Linked DNA regions of Homo sapiens: all the other regions are linked to region 1. Evidence: promoter capture Hi-C in human tissues and cell types (Jung and others, 2019). All regions are on one chromosome and are shown on one strand. The core of a region is centred on a gene start or on the middle of the fragment in contact, and the rest is flanking DNA. Distances in the headings are between cores, read along the strand shown. Region 1 holds the start of DNAL4 (dynein axonemal light chain 4). Region 2 overlaps MRTFA (myocardin related transcription factor A). Region 3 has its middle 11 kb from the start of TNRC6B-DT.

What was found. The method cuts DNA at HindIII sites, captures the fragments that hold promoters and counts their contacts. A contact is called where the count stands out against the background at its distance.
Region 2: a fragment that was not itself captured here is called in contact with the fragment with the promoter of DNAL4 in region 1 in 1 of the 25 tissues and cell types used here (aorta).
Region 3: a fragment that was not itself captured here is called in contact with the fragment with the promoter of DNAL4 in region 1 in 1 of the 25 tissues and cell types used here (spleen).

What each region holds. Positions count from the first base shown.
Region 1 is chr22:38,792,840-38,795,426 of GRCh38, reverse strand. It overlaps DNAL4 (dynein axonemal light chain 4), which reads left to right and starts at 1,284. Exons shown (of 4, transcript NM_005740.3): 1 at 1,284-1,359. RefSeq lists a silencer at 1,093-1,542. The HindIII fragment of the contact is 13,707 bases long and covers 1-2,587 here.
Region 2 is chr22:40,530,210-40,532,796 of GRCh38, reverse strand. All of the region lies in intron 3 of MRTFA (myocardin related transcription factor A), which reads left to right. Among named protein-coding and RNA genes, the nearest start is that of MRTFA-AS1, 9.7 kb to the right of the region's middle. The HindIII fragment of the contact is 3,323 bases long and covers 1-2,587 here.
Region 3 is chr22:40,054,661-40,057,247 of GRCh38, reverse strand. It overlaps a transcript of TNRC6B not described here. Among named protein-coding and RNA genes, the nearest start is that of TNRC6B-DT, 11 kb to the right of the region's middle. The HindIII fragment of the contact is 4,520 bases long and covers 1-2,587 here.

The DNA of each region.
Region 1 (2,587 bases), core at 35-2,534:
TCGAAGTGAGGTTTTCTTGCTGTCTTCTGTTCCTGGGTGGGATCACAGAACTGTTTGAGCCACATTACTGGTCTGGGTGGTGTCAGCTGATCCATCGAGCGCAGGGTCTGCAAAATATCTCAAGCGCTGATCTTAGGTTTTACAATAGTGATGTTATCCCCAGGAGCAATTTGGGAAGGTTCAGACTCTTGCAGCCAGAGGCTGCTGTGTGACCCCTAAACCATAATTTCTAATGTTGTAGCTAATTTGTTAGTCCTACAAAGGCAGACTGGTCCCAAGGCAGGAAGGGAGCCTTTTTGGGAAAGGGCTATTGTCAATTTTGTTTCAGAGTAAAACTATAAACTAAATTCCTTCCCAAGGTTCGTTCAGCCTATGCCTAGGAATGAACAAAGACAGCTTAAAGGCTAGAAAGGCAAGATGGAGTGGGTTAGGTCTGATCTCTTTCACTGTCATAATTTCCTCAGTTATAATTTTGGCAAAGACAGCTTCAATGCTAGTAAATGTGGCAGTGGGGTTTCACCCCAAGTACTCATCACAATAATAAAGGTTTAAACTACGAAGTACCCAACTGACCCTTTGATCTACCAATCAAATAATAGAATCCGCCAGTTCTTCCCCTTTCCCCTTTTCCTTCTCCGTACTTTCGGATTAATTTTCCCTCCCAAGGGGAAGAAAAGGCAGGCTCTGGGCAACTGTGTCTGAAATTAGGTGGTACAAATGTCTCCTAGTGACTAGAGCTAGGTGACCATACAAGGGTGTGGCACAGAGGAAGGAGCCCCTGGGTTCCTTCTCCAGGGAGATTACCTCCATCCTTTACCAAGTTACTTAACCTCTCTGAACTTTAGTTCAGATGGGATGACGAATATTATCACCTAAAAGTACTGTAATGAGAATCAAGTGAGATATTAATTGTACAGCCCTACAAAAATGCTAGTTATTATCAGGCTTTTCAGATCCCAATAAAGTAGTGGCTAAGTGTCACGACACCAACAAGTTGCATTTGTTATTTCAAGTGACTAAAAGAACCTCCCAAGGCAGTACTGCTTTTCGAAGTTTGTTTCCCTAGAAAAAGAACTTCAATGTGTCCCCTGCTCCTCGGGCACGCTTAAGACAACTATAAGTGAAGTCCCGCCTCCCTGGCCTCTAAACCACGCCCCTGTCCTTGCAAACGCCTGACTTATAAGGGCCTTTCACTCTGATTGATACTTTTATCCACCAATAATAAGTGAAATTCTCGTCAACGTCCGGTGAGGGGGCAGGACTTCCTTGCTGGTTGCTAAGACACTCTTGTTTCGCTCCTTGACAACCCTGGCGGGGGTTCGCTGGCTGCGGCCCCGGCTCCGGCCCCCGCAGGAGCAGGTGAGGCCCCGGGGCGCGGCGGGCAGCCAGGCGGGGAGGGCCGGCCCGGAGGGAGGGCGGGAGGCAACGCAGGGCGGAAGAGGCCTCGCCCGCCGCCGAGGCCCCACCTCGGTCTCCTGCCTGCTGTTCCCCTGCCCCAGGTCTTCCCATCCTCAACCCCCACCCTCACCCCCACTTCGGGACCTGCGAGCTCTGTCGTGACAGGTTTGCCATCGCGACTCTGCCGGCTGCTCTTCCCCACCCACCCAAGGCCTGCCCAGCTTCGTGGTCCCGCGTCCCCCTTTAGCCGACTTCCCCCAGCACCTTGATCCCTCGACCTTTCGCGGAGTAATTCCCTCTCCCGCGGGGTCGCCATCAACTAGGTCAGACCGCTCTTGGCTTGGAGAGTTGGCGACTTACTGGGATTCTGGGCTGGTCATTTCCCCTGTTTGGGCCTCAGTTTCCCCATCTGTAAATGAGAAGTTGAGTTGAGTGATCTCTAAGGCCTCTTCCACTCTGACGTTCTAGGATGTCGTTGTTCTTTGACCCAACTTTAGGCTTCCGAGAGGATGTGCTCCCCAATGGGAGGTATCGTGTATTGTGAAAATAACTTGGCAAACCTAATTTGGATTCCCAGTCTCAAGACCTACCCTCCCTGCGCTTTTAATCAGTGCATATGTAAAATCAGTATACGTCGGTGCATCTCCTTTGGTAATTCTGAGGCTAATATGAAGTACAGAGTCCAGTCCAGTATAGATTCAGTATTTGTTAGTTTCTTTCCTTTGTCTCTTCACCACATTTTCCCTCTCTGGGAAATGTTATCAACCCGGTCAGCATGAACTGTCATTTCTCCAGTTGACCCTCTCTGATCTTCCTCCTGGGCTTCCATGGTTAGGGTTACTTAGGGGTGGGGAGGGGACAGATGGAGATTGAAATACAGTCATGTACCATATAACAACGTTTTGGTCAAGAAAGACCACAGATACCACGGTGGTGCCCTAAGGTTATAATGGAGCTGACAAATTTCTATCACCTAGTTACATAGCTATCGTAATGTCAAAGCAAAATGCATGACTCACGTGTGTGGTGATGCTGGTGTAAGCAAACCTACAGTGCTGCCAGTCATATAAAATATAGCACATACAATTGTGTACAGGACATCATACTTGATAATGGTAATAAATGACTGTTACTTGTTTATGTGTTTACTATCCTACACTTTTATTGTTATTTTACAGTGTACACTCCT
Region 2 (2,587 bases), core at 40-2,539, 1.7 Mb before region 1:
CCCATCCACTGGCTTTCACTCAAAGGAAAATAAGACTTCTTGGTTCTGGCAGATACTGTCTCTGGCAGAATTGGTCTCACTGTTTTCCTTGGGGAGCATTTTAGGTAGTATGTTGAAAGACAGATATACATCAGTTGAAGACAGGATCAGATGCTATCTGGTTAATAAAGCTTATGATCAGGGAAGGGGCAAAGAAGACAGATACCACTACCATTTTGTTCTTTCTGGTTTTACTAATATGACCATAATGAGTCATTTTTTATGCATATAGGCTATGTGTTTCAGGTTGCCTTTCCTTTTCCTCCTACAGATCTATTGAGCTTTGTGTTCTAAACAAGATAGTGTGCTTATCTGAATGTTTCCCATCTGTCTTTGATGAAAAAGCTCCCAGTTAAACTAATTTGGATTTATTTATTTTTCCTGTCTATTCCAGTTCTCTGCTATGTGTGGGCAAGTGCCTGTTTTATCTTGAGGGGTAGATTTTAGCATTTGAACTCTCTCCCTTTTTAAAATCACCTTGTTACTTACAGATCATCTCAGTCCAGTAACTTTTCTTTATAAAGGTTAAAAGATTGTTTGCTTTCTTCTCAGGTAGTCTCAGTGTTCTCAGCCTTGAGAGGGAAAGGGACATACTTAATATTTTCTTGTCTTGCTTGCTAAGAGCTGTTTTTCCTTCGTCATGTGTTGGGCAGGGCTAGCCACCCATCTGTTGGACCAGCTACTTCATAAAACTTTCAAAGGATGATAGTAGGTGAAATGAAATTGACAAGAGTGTTGGATGCAGGTAGAATGAAGGGTCTGCTGTAGCGTGTATGTGGACTTCTTTCTTTTGTTTATGTTCGTAAAAGTGGAGAGACTCTGGATATAGAAAGGGTAATAGCAAACTGATATCTCCAGTACCTGTCTCCTATATGATCAAAAACATTAACAATGTGTTGGTTTTGTAAAATTGCTACTGTTTTGTTCTGAAGTGCTGTAGCCATTAGCTGGATTGTAACAGTAATATGACAGCTGTATAGTAAAATACTGTCTCTCTTTATGATAGGAAATGAAAAAGCATCTGTTATGAAGCCTCAGTGAACTAAAAGCCATTCTCTGAAAAGTCAAGACTTTTGGGCTTTATCAGTAGATAAACATGAGCCATAGGTTTTCTAGCAATAGAATATTTTAACCTATATGAATATATGCTTTATAGGTGAGACTGCTATTTAATGAGAGTTTTAAAGTAACTAAACCTTGTTGACAGAATTCAGGATGGAAAGTTTTACCCTAAATAAAACTTCAGGATATTGAATATGATAGCAAAGTTCCAGGGTATGTTTTATATTTATGAACAATTTTCATTTGAATATTTGGAGCTTGGGGGTTTTGGTGAGACATGTTCATGTATGTTATATACAAACTTTCAGGCCTGGCATGGTGGCTCACACCTGTAATCCCAACACTTCAGGAGGCTGAGGCAGGAGGATCGCTTAAGCCCAAGAGTTCAAGACCCATCTCTACAAAAAATTAAAAAAAAAAAAAAAAAAAAAAAGCCAGGTATGATGGTGCCCACCTGTAGTCAGAGCTACTTGGGAAGCTGAGGTGGGAGGATCGATTGAGCCCAGGAGGTCGAGGCTGCAACAAGCTATGATCATGCCATTCTACTCCAACTGGGGCGACAGAGCAAGATTCTGTCTCAAAAAATAAAACTTTCATCCTCCTCACTGCTGGTGGTCTCTTACTGGTCCTTTGGAACCAGCCAGATGTATATGTCTTCCTAATTAGATTATTAGCTTCTCAAGGGCAATATATTAATCTATATATTGGCTTCTGATACTGGCACATGGTACTTAGTATTTTTGAATGAATGAGAGTGATGAAATTTGGATTGTCATACTTTCCCTGATAAGTATAAGCTTTTAAATCAAGATTTTATCGAAGTATTTTGAGATCTGTTCTTATATTAAGAAATGAATCTTCTACCCACCATCCTGTATTTTAGCCAATCCTTGTCCAAAGCAGATGTTGTTGAAAAATAGCTTTCAAAGTTGGAATTCTTCTGCATCTCAGAATGTGCAGTATGTCATGTCTGCCTGTGATGTTTATTGCTGAATCTAAGTGTTCTAATCAAACCACAGTTAGAGCTTTTCTCACTACTATGGAAACATATCTGAATCATTTTGTTTAGATAATTAATGATCTAAGATGGACATTATGGGGCCGGGCGCGGTGGCGCACGCCTGTAATCCCAGCACTTTAGGAAGCCGAGGCAGGTGGATCATTTGAGGTCAGGAGTTCAAGACAAGCCTGGCCAACATGGTGAAACCCCATCTCTACTAAAAATACAGAAATTAGCCAGGTGTGGTGGTGCATGTCTGTAGTCCCAGCTACTTGGGGGGCTGAGGCAGGAGAATTGCTTGAACCTGGGAGGCAGAGGCTGCAGTGAGCTGAGATTGTGCCACTGCACTCCAGCCTGGGCGACAGAGCGAGACCCTGCCTCAAAACAAAAACAAAAACAACAAAACAAATAAGATGGACATTATGGAATTTCAGAAGCTAAGTCTTAGGGAATATTGGGGCATGGTACTGACTCTGGTGTGTTTTA
Region 3 (2,587 bases), core at 32-2,531, 1.3 Mb before region 1:
GGAAAAAAATTCAATGTAACTGTACTATTCACAAGAGGATTAATAAACATGTTCCCTTGTCATAAACCACAGATAGTGTTACCTGGTAAGAAGTTTAAAGGTATAATCAGTATCATCTTTCAATCCTGTGACTTTATCTCGACTGTTTACACCTACTATGTGCAAACCATTCTAGTGGGTGCCATGACAAAACAAAGTAGCATAAACTCATTTTGAGCTCAAGGTATCCAAGATGAGAACCCATGACGACTTCTTACTCTGTTGAGATACTACAAGGAACTTCCAATGAATATAGTCTACCTGTGCCCATGGGAGGAATCTGGTGGCCTTGCCCCATCAAATCTGCTACCATCTCTATTCAAGCAACTTCCATTTTTCTTTCTCCGCTGGGTGCTTCCTGTATATCTTTTAATAGATTATAGATTTTTCTTTCTTTTTTTTTTTTTTTTTGAGACAGGGTGTCACTCTGTCTCTCAGGCTGGAGTGTAGTGATGCAATCCTAGCTCACCGCAGCCTCCAACTCCTGGGCTCATGCAATCCTCCTGCCTCAGCCTTTTGAGTAGCTAGGACTACAGGCATGTGCCATCATGCTCAGTTGATGTTTAAAACATTTTTTGTAGAGATGGGGGTCTCACTATGTTGCTCAAGCTGGTCTCGAACTCCTGGCCTCAAGTGATCCTCTTACTCTGGCTTCCCAAAGTGCTGGGATTACAGGCATGAGCCACTGCACCCAGCCTGATTTTCTATCTTACTTAAAGGTGTTGCCTTCTCAACCTCGTCCTGCTTCCATTTTTCTCTGTCCTTTCTCTTCCAAACATCTTAAACTAAACTGCATTCATTACTACCATTCTCCCTATCATCACTTAGCTCCTTAGCCCTTTGTTATGTAGATCAAATACATACACAGAACTTGCAGAAATCGGCATTACCGTAAGTCAATTAACATCTTGTGAGTGTAATCAGCACTACCAGAGCATAATCACTTCTTCCCATTTGAAAAATATCAAGCTCTGAATATGCAAAGCTGAGAAACATTAGTTTAGCCAACAAGGTATGGACATCCTGCAACTGAAAGCAACTTAGCGGAAATAGAATGGAAGATGGCTAGAGATGGGGTGGATGGGGAAAGGAGACACTACTTAAGAGTAACAGGGAGAGAAAAATGGATAGGAGGAGACAGAAAAGGAAAGAGACATTGAAAACAAATAGGAGTAAATGAAGGAAAATGGGCTACATTTTTATCCAATTAATCTCCCTTTTTCAAATCTGGTTGAGAATTAAATTAGATTAATGTTAGCTCAGTGAACCACTTGGAGACTTGGAGATATGTAAAGACCTTCAAGCTGTAGGAACTGTCTTTCCCAGAACATATACCAGAGGCCCTTCTGGGTAGTCCTCTTTTCTGATTTCCTCTCTTTCACTGGTTCAGTGTCTGATCCATTTGAGATGGTATCAGCACTCACCTCAGGTGATCTAGAAGTCACTTCCTTTACACTCTCTGCTCCTACAGATAAGCTTAAATGAGTCACCACTTTCTAATTCCACCTAACATCATTTGCATGGTTATAGGTACACCACTGAAGCAAGTATATTAACTAGAAGTGACAAGTGCCGTTGTGGTTTATGATTATCTTCTCTGAATGGTACTCTATGCCTTTATGAATTCAAACATACAGATTCAGATCATTATTCTAAGGTCATTTCCTGTCCTAAACTGCAGTGGAGTAAGAGGCTGAGTCTGACATATCATGGTTCAACTGTAAGTCAGCTATTAGCCCTGTACCCTAATGCCAGCCTTGTAAAGCATACCGCTGTGCCGGTCATCTTCTCCACATACTAAAAACGCTCCCCCATGCCTCTACACAGGCTGTTCTCTCTGCCGGAAATGCCCTTTTCCTCCACAACTTAGTGTGAGTGTCACCTTCCCTGGGAAGGCTTTCTCAACCTCCCCATCGTGTTGATGACCTTCCTTTTCATCCCCGCAGCACCTCTTGTACTGTCTATTACAGCACTTATTACACTAAATGGCACTCATCTGTGTCCACATCTGTCTCACCCACCTGGCTGTGCATTCCTTGGGAACAAAGATCTCCTTTCGCCCCACCTCTGTAGTCCTGGCTCCTAGCACAGCATTCAGCATGTCTATGCATTCAAATGTTTAGTGAGAGCGTCATCATGTCAAGCCCAAGCATAATTTCTTTTCTTTTTTTGGAGACGGAGTCTTGTTCTGTCACCCAGGCTGGAGCTTAATGGTGCAATCTCAGCTCACTGCAACCTCTGCCTCCCGGGCTCAAGCAACCTTCCTGTATCAGCCTCCCGAGTAGCTGGGACTACTGGCGCGCACTACTACAACCAGCTAATTTTTTTTTTTTTTGTAGAGATGGGTTTCACCATGTCACCCAGGCTGGTCTCGAACTCCTGGACTCAAGTGACCTGCCTGCCTTGGCCTCCCAAAGTGCTGGCATTACATGCATGAGCCACCAAGCTTTGCCTAAAATGAGGTTTTTTAGAAATTCTATTTTAAATTCTCTTTCTTAACTTCATTTGAAAAAATATTTATTGAGGACCTACTATGTGCAACTCACAG